Linked DNA regions of Homo sapiens: all the other regions are linked to region 3. Evidence: promoter capture Hi-C in human tissues and cell types (Jung and others, 2019). All regions are on one chromosome and are shown on one strand. Each heading gives the region's core, a stretch centred on a gene start or on the middle of the fragment in contact. The rest is flanking DNA. Distances are from core to core; before and after follow the strand shown. Region 1 overlaps CILK1 (ciliogenesis associated kinase 1). Region 2 overlaps GSTA4 (glutathione S-transferase alpha 4). Region 3 holds the start of GSTA5 (glutathione S-transferase alpha 5). Region 4 overlaps FBXO9 (F-box protein 9).

Region 1 (4,266 bases), core at 1,652-4,151, 170 kb before region 3:
TCTTGAGGTGGAAGTCACCCTTGGCTGTGTCTGCCTTGTTCCAGCCTGTCCCCTCCTTCTGATGACCCAGCTGCAGGCCCAGAGTATCAAGATCCCTTCTAGTTGGAAGGTGGACAGTTTGGAAGACCCTCCCCACTTTTTTTGTTAAACGGATGAATGAATTTACTGAGTCCCAAGGCTGACAAACCCTGTTCACAGTAGAGACGTTTCCTGCATCATTTTTCCCTGATGCAGGCAGCCCCTGCCATGTGCTGCTTTCCCCTCTGCACTGCCAAGTGCACTGCCTTCATCCATTAGGTGTTTGTTTAATTTAAGGAAAATAAAAAAGAAAGAGATAATATAGCAACACCTGTGTAGCCATCACCCAGCTTAAGAAGTCAAACTTTGGCCAGGTGTGGTGGCTCATGCCTGTAATCCCAGCACTTTGGGAGGCTGAGGCTGAGGCAGGTGAATCACTTGAGGTCAGGAGTTTGAGACCAGCCTGGCCAACATGGTAAAACCCTGTCTCTACCTAAAATATAAAAATTAGCCAGGCATGGTGGCAGCAGGCCTGTAATCCCAGCTACTCAGGAGGCTGAGGCAGGATATCACTTGAACCTGGGAGGCGGAGGTTGCAGTGAGCCAAGATTGCGCCACTGCACTCCAACCTGGGTGATAGAGTGAGATTCTGTCTCAAAAAAAAAAAAAAAAGTTGAACTTGGCAAATACACATGAAGCCCAGTGTCTGTGCCTTTCCCGCCTCCCTGCTTCCCCTTACCTCCCCCCATGCCAGCCTGATCGAGTGTTTATTTAGGTTTGTATAAACTTCATAGTGTGGTTTTGCAGGTTTTAAAATTTATGTGAAGATAATCTTGGATCACTGCTTCATGCATTTTAATAAATATATGTGTAGCAATTATAGAGATATATATCATATATTATATAACATATACAATATATATCTATACAACACCATAACTTATTATTTATGTGGACCATAATTTATGTATGCCTTCTCTTCTTGATAAATACATAAGTTGATTGCAATTTTTGCTATTAGAAAGAGTGCTGAGATGATTATTGTACCCCTATTGTTATGCACATGTGTGAGGATTCCTCTGGGTACGAGAACTAGGAGTCAACATTTTATTTTATTTTATTTTATTTTATTTATTTATTTTTATTTATTTATTTATTTTAAGACGCAGTCTTGCTCTGTTGCCCAGGCTGGAGTGCAGTGGCATGATCTCGGCTCACTGCAACCTCTGCCTCCCTGGTTCAAGCAATTCTCCTGCCTCAGCCTCCCAAGTAGCTAGGATTACAGGCATGTGCCACCACACCCAGCTAATTTTTTTTTTTTTTTGTATTTTTAGTAGAAACAGGGTTTCACCATGTTGGCCAGGCTGGTCTCGAACTCCTGACCTCAGGTGATCCACCCGCCTGGGTCTCCCATTGTGCTGGGATTACAAGTGTGAGCCACCATGCCCAGCCAGAGTCAACATTTTAGGTTAAAGGGTGTGCTCATCTTCAACTTCACAGATATTGCCAAACTACTTGCTCTCCAGCGGGATATGGGAGTTGCTCTGCATCCTTGATGCCACTTGGTACTGTCAAGACTAAAATTTGTGCTAATCTGATGAGTGAGAAATGGTATCCTATTGTGGTTTAAACTTGCATGTCCTATTTACTAATGAGGTTCATCATCTTTTCTTGTGTTTATTGACTATAAGTTTTTTCTCTTTTGTGACTTACCTGTTCAAATTCTCTTCCCATTTTTCTTCATGTTTCTTCATTCACCAAAGTACAAAATACACCCCAGCTGACCAACGCAACTCCTCACGCAGGCATTCTAGACTGTGTTTCCACTCTGCCTTAAACAATTGCTGAAAAAGCTCTGTGTTGTGAAAACAGAGCAACTCTACTACTTACTGACTTTTCTTAATGGTTAGAATTTCCATTTCTATAACGGGCAATAATAACAGTCTTCATTATTCCATGTGTACCTTTAAGCCTAAATAATAAGAATTATATTCATTCACCCATCCAAAATTAATTGATTATCTGCTATATGCAAGGCATTCTGTTATCCTCCCCAGAATACCAAGACGAGTAGCATACAGTCCCTGCCCTTAAAGCACTCCCAAGTGGAAATGACATAAAAAGTTAAGGTATTTCACATTGTAAAAAATGGTTAATTTTTCTGATGTGGATAAGAATATTTAGTGTGTAATTACTTGTCACAGCTAAATAATTTAATATAACCTGTGTGTTGATCAATAAGAAAATGGTTAAATGGATTATGGTTTAGCCATACTCTAGAATTTATATGTACTCACATGGAAGGATAACTATTCTATATTATGGAGTGAAAAAAGCAAATTTTAGAATAGTCTAAATCTACTTTTACAAAAGAAAATAAAGAACAAATGTCATATTTCCCTTTTTTAAAAAAATTTCACAACCAACCCACCCTCTATTTGGTTGCCCCTCACAGGAGCAGCACTGTCTTTGGCCCCCGCAGTCTTTCTGACAGGGTAGTATGGTGGGATGCTTGGCTCTGAACTCATTTTTATCATGATTTGCTCTTTTCCCTAAAAGTAAAAACTTAGTTTGTTATTGCTCTGCAGTGCTGTCATTTAACCTTGTTGGTGTCCTGGGTACATGTCTTTGTAATAATGAGCTTTTTGCTTTTGCAAATCAGTTGGTTCCAGCTCTACAAGTTCTAGTGGACTGACTGGAAACTATGTCCCTTCCTTTCTGAAAAAAGAAATCGGTTCTGCTATGCAGAGGGTACACCTAGCACCTATTCCAGACCCTTCCCCTGGTGAGTTGTATTTTAAATTATTCATGAATTTACTCAACAAATGGTTACTCAACAACTGCTTTGTGCCAGGCATGTTTTAGGCCTGGGATCCACCAATAAATGAAACTTGCACTCTACAGACAATAAGTAAGCTAAATAAGTGCTATATAACATATAGTAAGTCAGATGCTTACTGACTTAGTGCTAAGGAGAAAAATACAGCAGACAGGAGGTAGGGATTGTGGGGGTTGGAGTGTGGGGTACAGGTTACAATTTTAGATAGAGTAGCTAAAGAAGAGCTCACTGCAAAGGAGTTGTTGAGTAGAGACCTGGAGGAGGTGATTGAGCAAGCATACAGTATGAGTGAGGCTTTTCCAGACAGGAGATTGTTCTGTGCTTGAGCTTTCAGGCAGAACTGGCCTGGCAAATTCAAGGAGCAGCAAGGAGGCCAGAGTGTGGGAGTGACAGGAGTGAGAGGGGGAGTAGCAAGATGAGGTCAGGGGTGATACGATGCCTGTAAGCACATTGTCATGGATTCTGAGTGACGTGGAGTCCCTGGAGGGCTTTGAGTCCATAAGTGAGGTGATCTGACAGCCATCTCCACAGGCTCCCTCAAGCTGCTGTTGTCATGAGACTGAAGTAGGGGCAAGGTAGGAAGCAGGGAATCCAATTAGGAGGATGTTGAAATTATCCAGGTAAGAAATGATGCTAGCTTGGGCCAGCGTGGTAGTAGTTCAGTTGGTAAAAAGTTGCCAGGTTCTGTAAATATTTGGAAGGTAGAACTAATAGGATATCCTGACAAATTATATGTGGTATATGAAAAAAAGAGGGGTCAAGAATGATGCCATTATTTTTGGCCTGACAACTTTAAAACGATGTCTTTAACTGCAGTAGAGAAGATTATAAGTAGGAGACAAGATGCTCCTCTTGAACTCCTTATTTTCTCATGTTTTTGTCACCAAAATGCATTTATTTGTACTTTGCTTACATTGGCCCCATATCAGTCATGCCGGCCTTTTTCTTTCATTGCAGGTTATTCCTCCCTGAAGGCCATGAGACCTCATCCTGGGCGACCATTCTTCCACACCCAGCCTAGAAGCACTCCTGGGTTGATACCACGGCCTCCAGCCGCCCAGCCAGTGCATGGCCGGACAGACTGGGCTTCCAAGTACGCATCTCGGCGATGACTGTCTGCCTTGGTGATGAATCTCTTCCTAGGGAGAAGCAGGATACTTTCCCTCAGCTGACTGGTGTTCTACCTGCAAGATGTGCAGAGGGCATAAAAGCAAATCAACACTTTATAGTTATTCTTCTGAACTAAGACATGTCAATATTCTTTTTTAAAGTTTTTTTTTAAAATATTGATTTGAATGCAGTAGGCTTTTTTGTATAAAATTATTTTATTCTAAAACTGGGTCCCATTATTTTCTTAAACAACAGCATTTTGTATATATGGATTATGTTTTAGCATTTTATACAGTCAA
Region 2 (3,998 bases), core at 1,145-3,644, 140 kb before region 3:
AGAGAGTCTGAGTAAAACAAAAGAATAGGATTCAGATATTGAATATTATATCTAGGGTGTCATTGTTTCAGATTTCAACATTTTTAAATGCTTTGATACTGCTTTTTCCCTTTCTTGCACATTCACTATTGTTAAGTATTAGGAATGAGGAGCTGCTGTGACATTCAAGGCCTGGGAGAGTGAGCATTAGATTATAATTTGAAATCAAAGCCTGGTCCTTGCACCCCTTAGATGTATGACCCTGGGCAACGTGGGTATAAGAATAGTACATTTCTCATAGTGTCATGTGATTTAATGAGATAATGGATAGAGAGTGTTTAGCACCATGCCTGGTACACTCTAAGCACTCAATAAGTGGTATTCACTATTTTTATAAAGTTGAAGTTTGACCCATACGAAGAGACCAAAACATGGATGCTGGGGTAAAAGTGGAGGAGTAGGATGCCAGGAGAGAGAGCACTCATGACTGTCAAGCTGTCTGATCTGTGACAGATTTTTCTGAGTTACAACTAGAATTGACCTTATATCTTTGCTCTTAAGAGACAGGTATAGGTAAATGCTTCTAGGGACTTAAGTTGCAGCATCTTTAAAAAAAAAAAAAAAAGCACTCTGAATTCTTAGTTGTGGAAACTGATGGCTTCAAAGAGAGGAGAAACTGAGACAACTGCTTTTTTGTTTTAAGGATTGACATGTACGTGGAGGGGACACTGGATCTGCTGGAACTGCTTATCATGCATCCTTTCTTAAAACCAGATGATCAGCAAAAGGAAGTGGTTAACATGGCCCAGAAGGCTATAATTAGATACTTTCCTGTGTTTGAAAAGGTAGGTGGCAGAGATGCCTACATACACAGAGCAACCAAACCACAAACCACAAAGAAGCTGCCACAAACACCCTTTTCTGTCCAAGGATTTTAAAACTGAGCCCAGTTGAACTAACCTAAGCGCTAATGGACTCCTAAGAGCGAATAGTAGCCACAGCACAAAGCTGGTGTCTTAGAGCCCCTTGGACTCTGCTAGGACCACATGATTCAGAAGTCTAGAAAAAGTATGGGCTCCCTGCCTTTGTTCCTTATTGTTCCTTGCATTCACCAAGTTCCCACCTTGTGTGGATACAGCAGAAACTTCAGAAGATACAGAAAACAAAAACTACCTCATTCATTCATTCAACAAAAGTTGTCGAACAGCTGTCTCAGCTGACATCCTCCCTGATAATTCGATATGAGTAGAAGAACCATTTCCATTTTATTTATCTTCCCTTTGCTCTTTTTGTTTTTGGTTTTGTTGTTTTTCTCTTCTTGTTATATCTGCTTTTCTGAGCTTCAAATTCTTTATTCCTGAACTGGGAGGAACTTTTTTAGTGTTTCAATGCAAACACTAAAGAAGAGGGTGTGAAAATATGGGAAGACCTATTTGGCAAGCTTCCTCTGACCATCTTTATGGAACTAGATTTAGGAAAAAGGAGAGGTATTTTCTGGGGTTTCTGTAGCTAGGTTTTATGGTATCTTTCCCACAGGCACTTTGTGAATGTAAAATAGGATAATGAAGAAATGTGGTCTGGAACGGGCACAGAGGACCTGGTGCTTTGGCAAAGGTTCACTGCTCATTCTTAGGTCCCAAGGGCCCAGACTGTGTCAGGGTTTCTTGCAACACGCCTATGAGGTGAGAACCGTTGTCCCTTTTACACATAATGAAATGAAGTCATGAAGAGATTCAGTGACCTGTCCAAGGTAACATGGCCAGAAAATGGAGAGCAGGGTTGGAACTCTGGCCTCTGACTACAAATTCAGGATGCATTGTACTATGCCACTCTGGCTCCAGTAGCTATATTTGACCTGGAATTGTGTTCGGAGTCCCTGTGACACACACACTTGTGCACATGCAGACACCCATGGGCATCCAAGAGTTGACTGTGAAGGGGATCTCCCCTTTGCTACTACTGCTTCTTGCCTCTCCCTAATCACAATCTATTCTTATAAGCCCCACACCTATACGTTACCCTCAGAATGGGAGTCAAGATGAACTCAAGCTTTTCATTTTCTCTGTTTTGGGACATGTAAGAGGAAGTCTAATTTTATAATTGGGTTGAGTTTATGACTACACCTCTTGATGTTCTAGCAGCAGAACTGGGAAATAAGAGTGGGCCCCTTGAAGATGATCTATCACTTAGATTTCTTAAATCACCCTGCCCCTCCCCAAGCCTCCTGCATGCATTTCTGTAGATACATTTTTGGAGTAGATATATCCTTTCAAAACACCAGATGCTAAATCCAGAAATAAGGAATTTTCCCTTCCCCACTTCAATGTCTCATTCAGATCCACAGCAGATATTTAAGGATGCTTTCATTTCCACACCTTTTTTGTACTTTCTCTCTCTCTCTCTCGCTCTCTCTCTCTCTCTCTCCCCCTCTCTCTCACTCTCTCTGTCAGATATAGGGTGCGTTCTCTTAATTGATGTTATTTATGAAAGCATGAAATGACAAGGTCATAGTTTCACCTCTTCTCAGATACTGCACTGATTCAATAGCCTCATCACTCTCTCCATGTGGAATATTGTAACTGATGCACACCATTTCCCTACAGATTTTAAGGGGTCACGGACAAAGCTTTCTTGTTGGTAATCAGCTGAGCCTTGCAGATGTGATTTTACTCCAAACCATTTTAGCTCTAGAAGAGAAAATTCCTAATATCCTGTCTGCATTTCCTTTCCTCCAGGTAAATAAAACTATGTATTAGAAGATTGGCCTAGAACTCTTGGGCCTTCCTTCAGTGTCTATTGTTTGGTTGGCTTTGGGGAGTGTGTGTGTGTGTGTATGTGTAATATTTTTAAGATTCTAGTTTGGCAAATGAAATGAAAGTAAGGACCCAAAGTTATTTTTCTGGTCCTTAAATCCTTCAAGTTGAAAGATCATTGAAGTGTAAAATTTTTTTTTTTTAAGGTGGGATCTTACTATGTTGCCCAGAATGGTCTTGAACTCCTGGGCTCAAGAGATCCTCCCACCTCAGTCTCCTGAGTAGCAGGGACTATAGGCATGTGCCAGCACACCCAGCTCAGAAATTTTCATCTTAATTTTGTTCCATAACTGCACTCCTGGAAAAAACTCCATGCACAGGGAGTTTGCCTCAGGGGACTTTCCATAGAAATAACCATAGAGATGAGGTGGTCTCACACTCACATGTATCTACTGATGGAATAGTGGGCGAGATAAACATCAAAACAGTCTCATTCATCAGGCTATGACTCCCTTTCTCAGAAATAGTATGGTCTCAAGTTAGGAAATTCTAAGCCTGAGCTCTGAGAGCAAATGAGAGATGTTAGCACCCTAAACATCACCCCAAAGGATTCCTACCATTCTCCTTCTGAGAATTCCAAGGAAAGACTTGTGTGGTTCAAATTATCCCTCAGGGTTATTCTGGCAGGATTGATCATAGAACTTTAAAGGAGAGAAGGGCCTTTAAAAAAAAACTCATTTAATGACTTCAATATTCACTTGAGGAAGTAGAGACCCAGAATAAAGAAATCAGCAGCCAAGCTGGCTTAGGCAGTGGATGCTTGAGTTTTATCTAGAACCTTAGCCTTTTATCTCCAAGTCTAATGTGCAGACTGTAACTCCTGGGCCAAACCTGGCCTGCCACCTGTTTTTATACAGCTTGTGAGTTAAGAATAATTTTTACATTTTTAAATGGTTGAAAAAAATCTGTGGAATAATATTTCATGACACATAAAAATTATATGAAATTCAAATTCTAGTATTCATAAATTTCATTGGTACAAAGCCATGCCCACTCATTTACACAATGTCAAGGTTACTTTTGTTTTTCTACAGCAGAGTTGAGTAGATCTGATAGAGACCATATGGCCTGCAGAACTTAAAATATTTGCTGACTGGTCCTTTATGGAAAAAGCTTGCCAATCCCTGAAACAGCCTGGATACAGACCAAATTGCTATATGTTTGACCAAGTTATCAAAAGCCAAGAGAGATACACTAACTCTCCAA
Region 3 (3,941 bases), core at 279-2,778:
AGAAGAATCTTAATGTTTAATCACAGAGCTGGGGGTTTGGAGAGAATATGCAACTGTTCCTAAGTCCTGGCACTGGAACTCCTGCTTTCAATGAGTCCTGTGTCCTTCCATTCACATTCATGATACAATTAGTTGCATCTGTCCTTGCAGCCATTGGTTTTCATTCTCTGATACTCTGCTATGTTCCACCTCCCAAACAGCCTGGGATAGAGCAAGGGCTATCAAACTTCACTGATGAGCCCAGTCAATTTCTCTCTAACCATTTACAACAAGCAGGTGAGCGTGCACACATGCAAACATCCATACACACAATATACAAATAACTGAAACTAACAACTCATGAAACATTACTTACCCTTCAACATGTCATGCTCACTGATATTTTTATTCTTTTCTATTTTATTTTAAAAAGTACTGGGGTTTCACAATCTACTGAAAGATTACCATGCATATTTGAGAAACATTAACATAGAAAATAAGACTCAGTCTTTAGTTTTTAATAGCAGTGAGTCTGCATCCCAGATCCACCACTTAATCTGGGTAAGTTACTTTAAAAACCTCAGTATCCTCAACTGTAAAATGAGAATAGCAACAGCCTTTCACCTTAGGTGATTTTTGTAGGACAAAATGAGAGAAGTTTAGAAGAATGGCCAGTGTATGACTGACGTTGAACAAATGCTAGCTCCTTCCATATCCTGCAAAGTTAATGCAGCAACATCTCTTTTGCCAGGTTATAAAACAAAATGCCCCCCACAGAGTTAAAATATAGAACACCAAAAGAAGCAAGGTATTAGCATTCTCTGTTGAAAGACTTTGGATCTTCTAGCTACAGTAAAACAAGTCTGAAGCCTAATTTCTGGTTTTGATCAAATGCAGTCTCACAGCCAGAGAGCTGAAGAGTGACTTAGCTCCCTGCCGGTCCTCCCTGTCAGTGACATCCTCTGGTTTCACAACCAGTTCATGGGTTCCCAGGGCCTTCACCCAGATGTCTTCCAGGCGTGACTTCATTTTAGTCCTTGGTGTAGATATTCATGTCCATCACCAACCAGAGTGTGACTGTGAACATTGTATTTCTCTGATGTTCGATTTCATTAACTAAAAATTGGAGAAAACAACCATTTAATGAGACTATAAGGAGGGTTAAAGATATAAAATATTGAAAGGGACTAGCATTGAGGAAGGATCATGAGGAAGTTTTCAATAAATATTAGTTCTTGAATTCTTCCCCTTCCATTAACTCCTGTACATGTATTATTACCACATACTCTCACCTCTTAGGCTGCCAAGAAAAGTCACAGGTAAACAATGAAGACTTGAGACTGGTTTGAGGGTGGCCACTGCTGGGTAACAATTTGAGCCAAGAAAACATTCCAGGAACTCCTTCAACCCAGTCATGAAGAAGGCAGGTTCTTCTTCAGCATTGTTTGTGGTTTTCAACCACACATCCTAAAGTACATTTTTGATTCTATCGTTTCAATTATTCATTCATTCATTCAGGCTTAGAGAAACCTCCAGGAGACTGCTATCATGGCAGAGAAGCCCAAGCTCCACTACTCCAATGCACGGGGCAGTATGGAGTCCATTCGGTGGCTCCTGGCTGCAGCTGGAGTAGAGGTAGGTTCTGAGTAAGGTCATCTTAAGTTGGATTTAAAATTGCGTTATCACATACTTTTCCCACAGAAACTATGCAATGATTACTTACTGAAGCATTGTGCCTTAAATAAAAATGGACTGTAATTAAGAAAAAGATGAATAGATTTGACCTAAAAATTGTTAAAATTTCTTCTTATCTAAGAGCATACATATTAAAATACAATTAAGAAACTAATCAAAAAGTGTAGAACTTAAGTGGATTAGAATTTAAACAAACTGTAAAAAATAATTTATGGCATTAGAAACTTGGATATTGACTGAATATTTGATGACATGAAATAATTATTGTTAATATTTCATGTGTGATAATGTACTATGGTTATCTTTAGAACAGTTTATGTGTTTTAGGAAAACACATTGAAGTATTTAAGGATTAATCATATGGATCTGGGATTTCTTTGGAATTATTACAAAAGGAGAAGTAGGTGGGCATAAATATAACTTCACATTGGTTTTGGTTGATAATTATTGATTCTAGGTGAGAAATATAAGGAGAATTTTTATGCTTTTCTGTTTATTTTTATTCATGTTCATAATTTCCACAACAAAAAAATGAAAATACGTAATATTTAAAAATGGCTGTAGTTAGAGGTAAAATGCAAACTATAAATGAGAGGTGTAAGGGAGTGGATTGTAACAAACTACCTATTAAAGATTGACTACATTCACAGCAATTATTTGTTGAGCACTTATTAATTCCAGGTTCTGTACTAGGTCATGGAGATAGACAGTGAACAAGACAGACACAGTCCCTGCCCTGGGGCGGCCTACATGTCTATGAGGATGCAGACAAGTAAACACGTGGTTAAAATGAGGCGTGGAGGCTTCTAGAACACCCAAGCATTCCCCAGTGTTACCAGGTCATCCTCCCAGTGTTTGAGTAGGAAATGCCTGGAGGTGTCTGTGGGACTCCGCTGAGTGCTGCCCTCTAGAGGTGTCACTGAGAAAAACACTTCCCAGTCCAGACCAGAGTCCTTCAGCGACTGCCTGAGGGTTTTCCTGGGAAGTGAGTCATGGACAAACTCAGGAGATCTTGTCCCTCGGGTGGCAGCAGAAAAGGGGGGTTTCAGGTGAGGTGGCGTCCTGTGAAGGGAACTTCTAGCGCGCCCCTTCAGCCTCACAGCGCCGTGTGGACCTGAGCCTCGGAACGGTACTTTGTGCGTTGCTTCACGAAGGCTTGGGACTTTAGCCTCACCCTTTCTCAGTTCTATGAAGAAATAAGCACATAAGAAATCCAAACACTATCATTCTAGGTTGTTTCCTTTGTACAAATGAATACCCTGTTTCACTGTCACGCAGACATCAGCTCTGCAGCTCAGGGATGTGTTCAGAGCCCGGGTAGGAAGAGTTCAGCAGGAGGGAGGGAGGGGCAAGGCTGGGAGGAACCCAGGTTCCCAGGTCTCCATCCAGCCTGACTGAAGGCGGGGGCAGGGCTGACTGCAGACCTTGCTCAGGCTTCTGGGGTCTCAGCGCCCTAAGGCTGATGATCACAACCCAGTCCTCACATCCCACTTGCCAACCCCACCCCACCTTGTCTACCCTCCTTCCTGGACCACCCACCGTTCCTTAGGTTTGTCCTGAACTGGATGCCTTATTAATTGCTGGCACACACCCCCATGACCTCTAGATCCTGGTCCTGTGTGATCATAGATCCACAACAAATTCTGTTCCATGGAGCAAGCCAGAAACCCCCAAATTCCTGATCTTTCACCATAAAGAACTCCATTAAAGTATAATTAGCCACTGGAAACACCGCTACTATTTATTACTTGATGTATGTGGGTCAGGCCCTGTATCATGCATTTTGAAACATTACAAAATTCCATTTAAGAAAATATTATATTCCCATTTTGCAGATTAAGAATCTAAGGCTTGAAGATTTTAAGCAATAATTCCTAGATCACACAGCTATTTTGAGGCAGAGTCAAGATTGGAACCAGATCATAACAACATTGAAATCCAGAAAACCTTGATAACTTTTGCTTAGACTTTTGGTTTGATAGATTCTGCCTATTTAAGTCAACTGCATCATTATGTAATAACTGAATTTCATATCTGTATTAAATACCTGCAACCACTCATAGCTTCTGGTCAGATTGAGACAGCCTTGTTGCTGGCTGCTATTTCCACCAAAGTGACTTGTCTCAGGATGAGGTGGAATTTACTCCAATGTTTAAGTTACTGGATGTAGATCAAGAACTAAGTATAGTTTCAAAATTCTAAACATAACTTATATTTAACGAGCAGTTACTATACACCTGCTACTTTTCTAAGTGCTTTGCATGACC
Region 4 (4,147 bases), core at 1,126-3,625, 230 kb before region 3:
ATTAGCATCTGGCTGGGCGCGGTGGCTCACGCCTGTAATCCCAGCACTTTGGGAGGCTGAGGTCGGCAGATCACCTGAGGCCAGGAGTTCGACACTGGCCTGGCCAACAAGATGAAACCCCATCTGTACTAAAAATACAAAAATTAGCCGGTTGTGGTGGCACACGTCTACAGTCTCAGCTACTCTGGAGGCTGAGGCAGGAGAATCAGTTGAACCTGGGAGGCAGAGCTTGCTGTGAGCTGAGATCGTGCCACAGCACTCCAGCCTGGGGTGACACAGTGACACTCCATCTCAAAAAAAAAAAAAAAAAAAAAAATAATTATATATATATATGTAATCCAATTAGAAAAGACATCAACAGATATTTCAGAGAGAGAATATATATTAATAGATGAAAAATAAGCACATGAAAAGATGTTCAACATCACAAGCCATTAGAGAAATGCAAATTAAAATGACAATGAGATACCACTACATACCTATCAGAATGGCTATTAATAAAATTAAAGGCCAGGTGCAGTGGCTCACTCCTGTAATCCCAGCACTTTGGGAGGCTGAAGCAGGTAGACTGCTTGAGGTCAGGAGTTCGAGACAAGCCTGACCAACATGGTGAAACCCCAGGCTCCCAAAGTGCTGGGATTACAGAAGTGAGCCACCGCACCCAGCTAGATTGCTAATATTTTTAATATTGTGTTTTGGAAGTTCTTTTTGCATTCTAGATACAAAATACAAATTTGTAAAAATACAAAAATTAGCCCAGCGTTACTGACGGGGCCTGTAATCCCAGCTATTTGGGAGGCCAAGGCACGAGAATCGCTTGAACCCGGGAGGCAGAGGTTGCAGTGAGCTGGAATCACACCACTGCACTCCAGCCTGGGCGACAAAGTGAGACTCTGTCTTAAAATAAATAAATAAATTAATTAAATTAAATTAAAAAGTAGCAACACTAAATGCTGATGAGGATGAACTGGATCACTCATACATTGCTGGTGGGAACTTAATATAAGATACTCTAGAAAACACTTTGGCAGTTTCTTTTAAAATCAAACATGTACTTACTATAGAACTTAGCAATTGTACTCTTGGGGTTTCATCCCAGAGAAGTGAAAATTATGTTCATGAGAAAACCTACACACATATTTCCATAGCTCCATTCATAACAGCCAAATATTGGAAACAACTCAAATGTCCTTCAACCAATAAATGGTTAAACTGGGGTACATCCATACCATGCAATACTATTCTGCAATAAAAAGGAACAAACTACTGATACATAGTAACTTGGACTGATCTTGAGGGAATTATACTTAGTGAAAAAAGCCAATCTCAAAAGGTTACATACTGGATGATTCCACTTATACAACATTCTTGGAATATCAAAATTACAAAATGGAGAACAGACTAGTGGTTGCCAGTGGTTACGAATGGCTAGGGAAAGGGAGTATATAACTATAAAACAGTTCTGTATCTTGATTGTGGTGGTGGTTACATGAAGCTACCTTGTAATAAAACTGCAAACAACTATTTATACACATACACACAGACAAGTGCTTGTAAACTCAGGAAATCCAAGTAAACTGTGGATTGTTCCAATGTCTATTTCCTCGTTTTTGATATTGTACTATAGTTATGCAAGTTGTTACCATCGGAGGAGGTTAAAGGGCACACAGGACTTCCCTATACCTGTGGACCTGTAATTATTTCAAAATAAAAATTAAGAGGAGATAGAAGGTAAGTCATCATGGTAATGCCAATTATTTGATGACTAATTATAAACACAAACTTGGATCTGATGGTAAAAAGATGGCAGCCTCTATGGAAGAAGAATAAGAAATGAAATGGTATGCTGTGCCTACTCTGTGTGAGTAAGTACCAGAAGAGATATGAATGTTAGACAGCATTCAAAATATTTTCAGTGTGAAAATATTTCAAAATTTTCCAGAATAAGGAAATGATTAATGCATTATTGTAAGCTGATCAATTCAAAATATAACAAAATACTGCATGAAATTAAGACCTCTGGAAAGACATTAACATGTGAGCAATCTTTTTGGTTCTATTAATAAATTTAGAAAATTCTGTTTTTTCTTTTTGGTTCTGTTAATAAATTCAGAGACACCAATCTTTTAGGAACCACATGAATCCCAGAGGTCTATAAATTAACAAAAGACAGCTCAATGAAGACAGTGTACCCACAGAGAAAAAAGCCATGCAGGAGTAGTGGTACCATCCAAAGTACCTAGAAGAAATTGTGAGAAATATATAAACTAGTATACTAGTCAAAATTTTTATTTTACAAGATATGTGTTTATGTCCCGAAAGTCTGGTTATAATGCCTACTTACTGTGTCAGTGAAAATTTCCATGTGCCAAAAAAAAAAAAATGTAATTTGTTACAATATCTATAATACTTAACTTTTCTTCTTTTGCCTGTTCTTGTTTTCCTTTGGTATCTGCCGATGTTTTCTGGAGAGAGCCTCTTGCTGCTCTGCAAGGTCGATTTTCTAAATTGCTAGAGCTTACACCTGGAGCAAGTTCAAACATCCACTGAGCTCGGAACATCTGGAGTTGTGCCTATGGGGAGAACAGCATTTTAGGACTCATCAAGGAAGGGTAGCTCAACTCTGGAACAATGTATCAATATGTCCAACATCTATCTACTTCCACGTATATACTTATTACTCTAAGTCCAGAAATCACTGTCTTCTGAATTATTAAATATCCATTAAATACATCTTTTAAAATAATTTTCTGCTCAAAACTTAAAGAATCAAGAAAATTAGCATAAAATACATGTCAGTACACCAAAAGTCAAATTATATTGGAAAACCAAATTTTAATTAGAATTGAAAATATAAGCCATCACTTACAGACTGAAGTTATAAGCTTCCAATAATTTTTTAATGACTATATCATCTAGTAGACATTAAGAATGCTGCCAAAAATTCTGTAGGTAAGCCCAAAATCTATTAACATTCTGTATTTCAAAAAGAAAATGTTTTTTCAAATATTTGTTATTTCAAAAATGTAAAGGCCAGGCACAGAGGCTCATGCCTATAATCCCAGCACTTTGGGAGGCCGAGGCAGACGGATCACCTGAGGTCAGGAGTTCGAGAACAGCCCGGCCAACATGGTGAAACCCTGTCTCTACTAAAAATACAAACAAATTAGCCAGGTGTGGTGGCGGGCACCTGTAATCCCAGCTACTTGGGAGGCTGAGCCATGAGAATTGCTTGAACTCGGGTGGCAGAGGTTGGCAGTCAGCAGAGATCGTGCTACTGCACTCCAGCCTGGGCAATGGAGCGAGACTCCATCTCAAAAAAAAAAAAAATTAAAAGCACATAAAAAGTGAACCCTATAAGGTAGACTCTGGTGTGTTGCCCAGATTCCCTTTCAGAAATAAAGAACTTGTTACCCAAACTGCTGAGAGTTCTATCTGAAAACACTTGAGTTGTCAGCCCTTTTGGGTATTGCCTCAGCAAAATCACACTGTCCTCTCAATCCCCACCCAATGACTGATCAACGGCTAATAAAGTCTTGGCTCTTTGCAACTCAGGTCATCTCTGAAAGGGTATTTCATCTTCAGAACTCCCTCGAGGATGGCTAAGCAGTCCATTAAGACTGCATTGCAGCTGGTCTTCTCCCTGCCCATTTGTTTCCCTCTCTCCCTTCCATAGGTGTTGATCCCAAGAATACTCCTTAATAAACTTCCTGCACAGCAATCTTCACCTAGTCTGCTTCCTGGGGAACCCAAACTGGGTTACACGTTCTGCCCAAAGGCAGCCATTGCTAACAGGGATGCATATGTTATTCCTGGCTTCCTTTTTTTTTTTTAAAAAAAGACGTATCTAGAATGTTTTAAATTAATTTTTCTCTATATTCTGTACACTGCTTTGTTGCTACGCTTTTAACCTGTTACACATAGATCTCTGACCTGCAGAATCTTTAGCAGCATTCAATGTCTACTAGATGAGCTGTTCCAAATAATTATTATTAACCTTACAAGTGCAGTGAGACACACTTAACTAGTTACAGCAACTTTTTTTCTCTTTTAATGTATAAAGATTTACTTCATCCTTTTAAATGGCTGTAGTGTTTTCACTGTATGGATGCATCATTACTTAATAACAGGTAATGAATATTTAAGT

Evidence for each region. Contacts are between HindIII fragments. The study calls those that stand out against the background at their distance.
Region 1: a contact is called between a fragment that was not itself captured here and the fragment with the promoter of GSTA5 in region 3, in 3 of the 25 tissues and cell types used here (lymphoblastoid cells, mesenchymal stem cells and thymus).
Region 2: a fragment that was not itself captured here is called in contact with the fragment with the promoter of GSTA5 in region 3 in 1 of the 25 tissues and cell types used here (mesendoderm cells).
Region 4: a contact is called between a fragment that was not itself captured here and the fragment with the promoter of GSTA5 in region 3, in 1 of the 25 tissues and cell types used here (mesenchymal stem cells).

The regions. Positions count from the first base shown.
Region 1 is chr6:53,004,852-53,009,117 of GRCh38, reverse strand. CILK1 (ciliogenesis associated kinase 1) reads left to right here. Exons shown (of 14, transcript NM_014920.5): 13 at 2,681-2,803; 14 at 3,815-4,266. The coding sequence ends at 3,969. Among named protein-coding and RNA genes, the nearest start is that of RN7SK, 11 kb to the right of the region's middle. The HindIII fragment of the contact is 6,922 bases long and covers 1-4,266 here.
Region 2 is chr6:52,981,290-52,985,287 of GRCh38, reverse strand. GSTA4 (glutathione S-transferase alpha 4) reads left to right here. Exons shown (of 7, transcript NM_001512.4): 5 at 683-824; 6 at 2,583-2,714. Among named protein-coding and RNA genes, the nearest start is that of GSTA4, 12 kb to the left of the region's middle. The HindIII fragment of the contact is 3,782 bases long and covers 504-3,998 here.
Region 3 is chr6:52,838,400-52,842,340 of GRCh38, reverse strand. It overlaps GSTA5 (glutathione S-transferase alpha 5), which reads left to right and starts at 1,528. Exons shown (of 6, transcript NM_153699.3): 1 at 1,528-1,614. The coding sequence starts at 1,528. The HindIII fragment of the contact is 18,057 bases long and covers 1-3,941 here.
Region 4 is chr6:53,071,907-53,076,053 of GRCh38, reverse strand. It overlaps FBXO9 (F-box protein 9), which reads right to left. Exons shown (of 13, transcript NM_033480.3): 3 at 2,415-2,573. Among named protein-coding and RNA genes, the nearest start is that of FBXO9, 8.6 kb to the right of the region's middle. The HindIII fragment of the contact is 5,649 bases long and covers 1-4,147 here.